3 separate regions of the Homo sapiens genome follow, and regions 1 and 2 are each linked to region 3. The links are contacts of gene promoters, found by promoter capture Hi-C in blood cells and fetal thymus (Javierre and others, 2016). All regions are on one chromosome and are shown on one strand. The core of a region is centred on a gene start or on the middle of the fragment in contact, and the rest is flanking DNA. Distances in the headings are between cores, read along the strand shown. Region 1 has its middle 17 kb from the start of CRTC3. Region 2 overlaps CRTC3 (CREB regulated transcription coactivator 3). Region 3 holds the start of MAN2A2 (mannosidase alpha class 2A member 2).

Region 1 (2,700 bases), core at 45-2,544, 390 kb after region 3:
TTAGTAGAGACAGGGTTTCACCGTCTTGGCCAGGCTGGTCTTGAACTCCTGACCTCGTGACCCACCTACCTCGGCCTCTCAAAGTGCTAGGATTAGAGGTGTGAGCCCCCACACCCGGCCCACTATAAAATTTCTATTATTTCTTTTTGTAATCAGTAAGTATCTCGAAGGGGGATAATCTGAGATGATATAAACATCCTGTTATTCGGGCTGAGGCAGGAGGATTGTTTGAGCTCAGCAGTTCAAGACCAGGCTGGGCAAGATGGCAAAACCCCATCTCTACAAAAAATACAAAAATTAGCCAGGCACGGTGGCGTGTGCCTGTGGTCCCAGCTACTGAAGAGGCTGAGGTGGGAGGATTGCTTGAGCCTGGGAGGTGGAGGTTATAGTGAGGTGAGATCACACCACTGCACTCCAGCCTGGGTGACAGAGCTAGATCCTGTCTCAAAAATAAATAAATAAATAAATAAATAAATAAATAAATAAATAAAATTTAAAAATCCTGTTATTCCACAAGCTTGTACCCACTAGTTTTAGTATGCATTGATAATTATTGCCCCTTTCCCATTTATTTGTTTATATCAGAATGGACTCATGAATTCTAATTTTAATGGGTTATAATTCATTACTGGTTGGGGTTCAGTCAGGCTGGTGGGAAAAATTTTAGTTATAATAGCCACAAACCCTCTTGGAAGGCCTGAGAGTTTGCATAATTGTGGTAATAGATCTGGCTGAAGGCAGCCTAGTCCCTTTACCTTTAAATAGATTAAAGTAGATACAAAGAAATGTGGGGGAGTTTATCTAAACTAGCTTGTTTACTCATGTGGTCCTAAGACTAACCTTTGATCTACTGTGGGTGCTTAATTGCTTTCTACTCAGGAGGTTGGCAATGTCAATTACCCTCTAGCTGTGTTGACTCAAGCCTTTGTCAATTAATCTTTACTGAACAAATGTGAGTCTCCCTGGATGGTGGAGGCCACGGCTGCTACTCTTTATAGCACTCTTCTTGGAGTCTGTAAGTGGCCCAGATGCTCAGCTGGACTGGCAAAGCAGAATATCTGTGTCAGTGTACTTTATTCATCTGTTGTTGGGTCTGCGGGACAGACCCCTGCAACTACTGTTATTATTTTAGTACTTAAAATTATCCCAGATTTACTGTCTGCATCCTTTTACCATGTTTCCATTTTTTTTAGTATTTCTTCCTGTCTAGGCACCCAATATTTTAGGCTCATGTTGTACTTTGTCTGCTTGGCCCCAGAATCAGCCATTTCTCCATGGAGCCCTGGTTCCTTTTAGTGGAGAAGGGTGTTTGGACACTGGTTCTCCTTTTTTTCTGGGAGCTAGTTCTGAGTTAGCTTTTTTTTTTTGCTTTGCTTTTTTTTTTTTCTGAGGCGGAGTCTCACTGTCACCCAGGCTGGAGTGCAGTGGCTTGGTCTCGGCTCACTGCAATCTCTCCCTCCCAGGTTCAAGTGATTCTCCTGCCTCAGCCTACGGAGTAGCTAGAACTACAGGCATGCACTGCCACACCAAGCTAAGTTTTTGTATTTTTAGTACAGACAGGGTTTCATTATGTTGGCCAGGCTGGTCTCAAACCCCTGACCTCAGGTGATCCACCTGCCTTGACGTCCCAAAGTGCTGGGATTACAGGTGTGAGCCACCGTGCCTGGCCTCTGAGTTAGCATTAAACAGGAGGAGTTTGACTTTAATTCTCATCACATCATTTTTTCTGTCATGTGCCTTTTCAGCTCCCACCATAAAGGTCTCTGTACCTCCGTCCCCATAGGCATTGGGAATATTTTTCTCCAGAAACAAAAGCCAGTGGCTATGAGCAACTATCATAAGTTTATCAAGTGCACATTCTTATACATCACATCAAAATTATTTTCTAGACAAGTGGGGACAAAATTTACACAGAACAAGTATCTGCAATTTAAGAACAAAAGTTTTAAACAAACTTACCAAAATAGAAATGTAGAATGGAGTCCAAAATTCTTTGACAAATGTGGCATACAAATGCACATTTTTGCTTTTCTGTTTCCTAGGTAATATTTACCATTTGTTGAAAGCTTAAAGTCGGGTTCTGTTCTAGCTTCCTCTTTTCTCCAGGATTTCGAAGAATGTGTTCCATGGAACATGAGTTTCACTGATGGCTAATAGGAGCTTTCTAAAGGGTAAGAGGGAGGGGATTGTGTGGTCAGATACATTTGGGGAAAGCTATGCTACACAAAGCTAAGCAAGTTTCTTGACTGTAGAACTTCTCAGAGCTTTTTTTTTTTTTTTTTTTTGGACAGAGTCTCACTCTGTCGCCCAGGCTGGAGTGCAATGGCACGATCTTGGCTCACTGCAACATCTGCCTCCTGAGTTCAAGAGATTCTCCTACCTCAGCCTCCTGAGTAGCTTAGACTACAGGCACGTGCTACCATGCCCAGCTAATTTTTTGTATTTTTAGTAGAGCCAAGGTCTCACCATGTTGGCCAAGCTGTTCTCAAACTCTTGACCTCAGGTGATCCACTTGCCTCAGCCTCCCAAAGTGTTGGAATTACAGGCGTGAGCCACCATACCCAGCCCTAAGGGCTTTTACATATGTGTTGTGACTTCCAAATATGACAGAATACAACATTTCCCAAACTTCCTTGATCACAGAATACTTCTTCAGGAGTACTTGCCAGCCCTATGCCCCACTATTCCTTCCCCTAATGT
Region 2 (2,700 bases), core at 190-2,689, 270 kb after region 3:
AATTTTCTCCCATTCTGTAGTTTGCCTGTTCACTCTGATGGTAGTTTCTTTTGCTGTGCAGAAGCTCTTTAGTTTAATTAGATCCCATTTGTTAATTTTGGCTTTTGTTGCCATTGCTTTTGGTGTTTTAGACATGAAGTCCTTGCCCATGCCTATGTCCTGAATGGTATTGCCTAGGTTTTCTTCTAGGGTTTTTATGGTTTTAGGTCTAACATTTAAGTCTTTAATCCATCTTGAATTAATTTTTGTATAAGGTGTAAGGAAGGGATCCAGTTTCAGCTTTCTACGTATGGCTAGCCAGTTTTCCCAGCACCATTTATTAAATAGGGAATCCTTTCCCCATTTCTTGTTTTTGTCAGGTTTGTCAAAGATCAGATGGTTGTAGATATGTGGCATTATATCTGAGGGCTCTGTTCTGTTCCATTGGTCTATATCTCTGTTTTGGTACCAGTACCATGCTGTTTTGGTTACTGTAGCCTTGTAGTATAGTTTGAAGTCAGGTAGCATGATGCCTCCAGCTTTGTTCTTTTGGCTTAGGATTGACTTGGCAATGTGGGCTCTTTTTCGGTTCCATATGAACTTTAAAGTAGTTTTTTCCAATTCTGTGAAGAAAGTCATTGGTAGCTTGATGGGGATGGCATTGAATCTATAAATTACCTTGGGCAGTATGGCCATTTTCACAATATTGATTCTTCCTACCCATGAGCATGGAATGTTCTTCCATTTGTTTGTATCCTCTTTTATTTCATTGAGCAGTGGTTTGTAGTTCTCCTTGAAGAGGTCCTTCACATCCCTTATAAGTTGGATTCCTAGGTATTTTATTCTTTAGAAGAAATTTCACGATCGAATCTTAAGATCTCCACCTTTCTTTCCCAACCCGGCTCACAGGATGCCGGAATCCTGATATGCCGAGGTGCGACATTGGAAGAGTGTCCTTTAGGGAACCTGACAAGGCCTGAAGAGAGAAAATCTTTTTTTCTGGAGACAGAGTTTTTCTGGAGACAGAGTCTTGCTCTGTCACCCAAGCTGGAGTGCAGTGGCATGACCTTGGCTCACTGCAACCTCCACCTCCTGGGTTCAAGCAATTCTCCTGCCTCAGTCTCCCGAGTAGCTGAGATTACAGGAGCATGCTAACACGCCTGGCTAATTTTTGTATTTTTAGTAGAGACGGGGTTTCACCATGTTGGCCAGGCTGGTCTCGAACTCCTGACCTCAGGTGATCCACCCGCCTCGGCCTCCCAAAGTGCTGAGATTACAGGTGTGAGCCACCACGCCTGGCCAGAGAAGAATGTAAAACTTATGACACCAGGAGTTTCCCAAGGAAATGACCAAGCTAGATCATTCTACAATGAAGACCACACTCAGCAGGCCTGCCCACATACACAGAGCTGCCAGCCAGCTTCTCAGTGTCCTTTTTTTTTTCTCATTTACATATTTTTATTTGGAAATGTTTATATCAGTACAAGGAAACAATTTTGGAGACACTGGATGTCATTAGTTATCATTAGTTTATTATAAGAAATATGGAAATTATTTACATGATGAAAGATTTCAGAACTTCAGTGGAATGGGCAGCTTCACACTGATGCCATTTCAGTAGTGACTTATTTCAGTCTATGTACTTTCCAAGAATGTCACCATCTCTAAATAGGAAATAATCCTTGTCATCTAGAACTACTTTGGTGCCTCCATATTCTGGGAGAAGAACTTTATCTCCAACTTTCACGCTAACTGGTTGAATCTCTCCAGCCTTACCTTTAGAACCCGATCCAACAGTGACTACTGTTGCTTGCAATACTTTTCCTTGAGATTTTTCTGGAAGCAAAATGCCTCCTTTGGTTACAGTTTTAGCAGCGCTCCTTCCAACCAATACTCAGTCAGAGAGTGGAAAAAACTTTCTACACGCTTGTCCTGCCATGACTCCCTTCGCCTCAGTCTCATACTCCGCTCTAGTGTAGAGCCGCAAGGAGACAGCCCCTCAGTGTCCTGTTCTTAAACATGAGCAGAGCACTGAGGATCACCAGGCCCTGAGGAAACCATCTGCCGTGAAAGTCAGAGGCCAGAGCAGACACACACAATCTTGGAAAGATGTGTGCAGGAAGAAGTAGTTGTGAAAAACCAAAATCAGCATGACAATATTTAGGCTACTAAGAAAATCCTTATCTATTAGAGATACATATTAAAATATCTGCAATTTTTAAAAGCAGGGTATGGATGAAACAAGATAACAAGGCTGGCGTGCTGGCTCACGCCTGTAATCTCAGACTTTGGGAGGCTGAGGTGGGTGGATCACCTGAGGTCAGGAGTTTGAAACCAGCCTGGCCAACATGGTGAAATCCCGTCTCTACTAAAAATTACAAAAATTAGCCAGGTGTGGTGGTGTGCACCTGTAGTCCCAGCTATTCGGGAGGCTGAGGCCAGGAGAATGGTTTGAACCTGGATGGCGGAGGTTACAATGAGCCGAGATCACACCACTGCACTCCAGCCTGGGCAACAGAGCAAGACCCTGTCTCAAAAAAAAAAAATTAATTGTTGAGGGTAAATGATGGGTATAGGAGGACTTATTGTATTATGTTCTCTACTTTTATGCAATTTAGGAAAATTCTATTATAGAAAATAAAGATAAATTCGAAAAAAAAAGACCACTAAAAACCTGAGAGATAAAAGATGATATTGCATCTGTGGAATAAGTATGATGCT
Region 3 (2,772 bases), core at 187-2,686:
GGCTCCTGTAGTCCCAGCTACTTGGGAGGCTGAGGCAGGAGAATTGCTTGAACCTGGGAGGCGGAGGTTGCAGTGAGCCAAGATCGCGCCACTGCACTCAAGGCTGGGCGACAGAGCGAGACTCTGTCTCAAAAAAAAAAAAAAGAAAGAAAAGAATTCAGGAGAACAGAGTGACAATACTCATTGCCATTGACATTTTTTCTTCCTTCCTTCTTTTCGCCATCACTGTTTTTAGCTGAGGGTTTCTACAAAACCTGACTATTGGGAAGGAAGGCTCCTGTCCTGTACTGACATTACCCTCCAGCGGGGGGTGGGAGGGGAGGCGGCGGGGTGGGAGGTGCATACCCTGAGCCCAGGTGACTTGTATACAAAGAAATTAGCAACCAGGCACGACTCACCCGGGGGAAGTTCCCACCATTCTGGTGTCGGGTGGGATCGTGTTGCACTCGGTCCAGCATGAGGTAGAGCGAGAAGACTGCCACACAGAAGATGGCAGCCCCACACACTGTCACCTGCTTTTTCAGCTTCATACTGGCCTCCACACACACCTGGCAGGAAGGACACCATCTGTAGCTCCAACATGCAAAATGCCCGTGGCAGTCTTTCCACCAAATACCCCAGTGAGTTCCTGAGGGCTGTTCCAAAGGAACACCCATTTGCCTGGCTCCAAGTAGCACAAGCAGCACATCTGAGGCTGGCCCACCTGGTCCTGGTAGCAGCTCTGCCGCTAGGGTGGAGAGGACGCTCTCCTTTGGCTGGTGCTATGAAAAACGGGCCCAGGATAAGAGTCCCAGCTCCGACTGGAGCGCACCACACAAGCTCCTGATTACACAGCTTCCCTGCCTAGATAGGAGGTGCCTGTTCAGGCTCCTCGGCCATGTGCTTCTAGTTTCAGGTGAATAAGCTAGTCTCTATTTTGTTTGATTTAAAAGTTTAGCCAGAACCCAAAGAGACTGATAGGAAAGCCTTTCTCAGTGCCCTTTCGGGTCAAACTGGCACTCACCAGAAACAGTGCCTGGCACGATCCTTTCTCAGAAACACAGAATGAGTTTCTTTCTAATAAAGAAGAAAGATGCTTGTGTTTCTAGCATAAAGCAAGCCCTGTGTGTTCTCCCTGTTTCTCTACTGTTCACTGCAGTGGGAAACTTCCAGCCGCGGTTTGCAGAGCACTTAGGGGACCCCTAGGAAGCCTGCAGTGACGCCGAAGGCCCCCTGGGAAGGGAGAGACGGGGCCCAGTGCTCAGCTGCGAGGCAACTTCAGGGGACCCGTGCCCCCCGCCGCCACCGCCCTCGGGCTCCGCTTGCCTGCTCAGGAGGAAGGAGGACGCTAACTGCGGAGCCGAGCGTGGGCGGGACCGCGCTCCGGAGTCTGCTCCGCGGGCCCTGGGGCCGAGGAGCTTTGTCGCCTCTGCGTTGTGCCCTACTTAGCGCGATCTGATTCTGCTCGGGAGCTTCCGGGCAATATTTTCAGCCCTTAGAGACTGGGTCTAGGCCAATGTGGGTGGAGCTGGGGAGAGAGTTGGATCACAGAGGGCAGGCACCTGCCGCCAGGTCTCTGGCCGCCCGCCCGGCTCCCTCCCCACCCGCTCCGACTTCGTCGGCCCCGGGGACCGCAGAGACAGGCGCCAGGTACGGGCCTCAGGCAGCCTCCTGTCCCTTCCTGGCCCCTCTGACGCCGCAGTGGCGCTCGCACTCCCGCCGCCCGAGCCCGGCCTCTGTCGGGGCAGCCGGAGCCCTCCCGCGCGCGCACCCGGCCCGTTACCGTCAGCGCCCGGCCTCCGCGCCGCTCCGGGCCCAGTCGGCCGAGCTGCCGGCTCTCACACGCCCGGGGACGGCGGCCCGCGTGCAGGCAGCGACGCAGGCGAAGGCGGGCGCCCGCCCACCCGTAGCCCCCTGCTCCGCGCGCCGCTGCCGCGCTCCCGCTGGGCCCCGGGCCGCCGGCGCGCTCCGCTGCGCCGGCCCCGCGCGGGTCCGCCAGCCTCTGAAGCTGCCGGGCCCAGCAGCGTGCGGGGCGGGGACAGCCGCGCCGCCCGCCCCGGCCTGCGTGTGCCCGGCGGAGCTGACAGGAGCTCTGGCCGCCGCGGTCCCCGCCCGGCTCCTCCCGGGCCCGCTCCGCTGGGCTGCAGTGCGCAGCCGCACCAGCCCGGGCCGGGCCTGGCCAGCTGCGGAACCTCAGGAGGGACGCGCGACTGAATTTTTTCGGAATCCTACTTGAGTAAGCGCATGATCGGGCAGTGGTCGAAACGCCCGCCTCCGTCTCGGCAGACGCGTAGCGGGGTGCGTTCTCCGCGGCCTCACCCGGCTCCGGCCCAGGTAGCCTTAGGTCTCTGTCGTTGCGCCCCTCGGGCAAAGGGGTGCTGCCTCCTGTCGGTACAGCGCATTCCTCGAGTCCCTTTCCTTTCCGTGCCTGCTCTATGTTTCCTGCCAGCGAGTGAACAAGACACAGACTTTTCTTGGCTGTTTCCCTTTTACTGGGCATCTAGGTTGTTTACAGTTTTTCAGTGTAATCCATACTGCAATGAACATCTCCATGAATTCCACATTTTTGTTCTTTTTAAGTTATATATAACATTATCTGAATGTGACCCCCCAAATTCATGTTCAAATCCTAATCCCTCAAGGTGATGATGGTATTAGGAGATGGGCCTTTGGGGGTGAACAGAGTTTGAAGGGAGAGCTCTCATGAATGGGATTAGTGCCGGTATCAAATGACCCCGAGAGTCGGCCCCTTCAACCACGTGAGAACACAGCTAGAAGGCACTATCTGTGCAC

What was found. Contacts are between HindIII fragments. The CHiCAGO score rates a contact against its expected background, and 5 or more counts as called.
Region 1: a fragment that was not itself captured here is called in contact with the fragment with the promoter of MAN2A2 in region 3 in 4 of 17 cell types (naive B cells, erythroblasts, activated CD4 T cells and 1 more); the score reaches 6.7 in naive B cells.
Region 2: a contact is called between a fragment that was not itself captured here and the fragment with the promoter of MAN2A2 in region 3, in 6 of 17 cell types (M0 macrophages, M1 macrophages, erythroblasts and 3 more). The highest score is 8.8, in M0 macrophages.

The regions. Positions count from the first base shown.
Region 1 is chr15:90,511,864-90,514,563 of GRCh38, reverse strand. No RefSeq gene overlaps it. Among named protein-coding and RNA genes, the nearest start is that of CRTC3, 17 kb to the left of the region's middle. RefSeq lists silencers at 841-1,041, 2,061-2,261. The HindIII fragment of the contact is 1,549 bases long and covers 520-2,068 here.
Region 2 is chr15:90,633,943-90,636,642 of GRCh38, reverse strand. The region is part of intron 11 of CRTC3 (CREB regulated transcription coactivator 3); the gene reads right to left. All of the region lies in intron 3 of CRTC3-AS1 (CRTC3 antisense RNA 1), which reads left to right. It also overlaps the pseudogene HSPE1P3. Among named protein-coding and RNA genes, the nearest start is that of LINC01585, 25 kb to the left of the region's middle. The HindIII fragment of the contact is 9,830 bases long and covers 1-2,700 here.
Region 3 is chr15:90,901,966-90,904,737 of GRCh38, reverse strand. It overlaps MAN2A2 (mannosidase alpha class 2A member 2), which reads right to left and starts at 1,436. Exons shown (of 23, transcript NM_006122.4): 1 at 1,306-1,436; 2 at 399-548. The coding sequence starts at 530. RefSeq lists enhancers at 446-505, 2,346-2,395 and silencers at 1,456-1,885, 1,906-2,175. The HindIII fragment of the contact is 23,300 bases long and covers 1-2,772 here.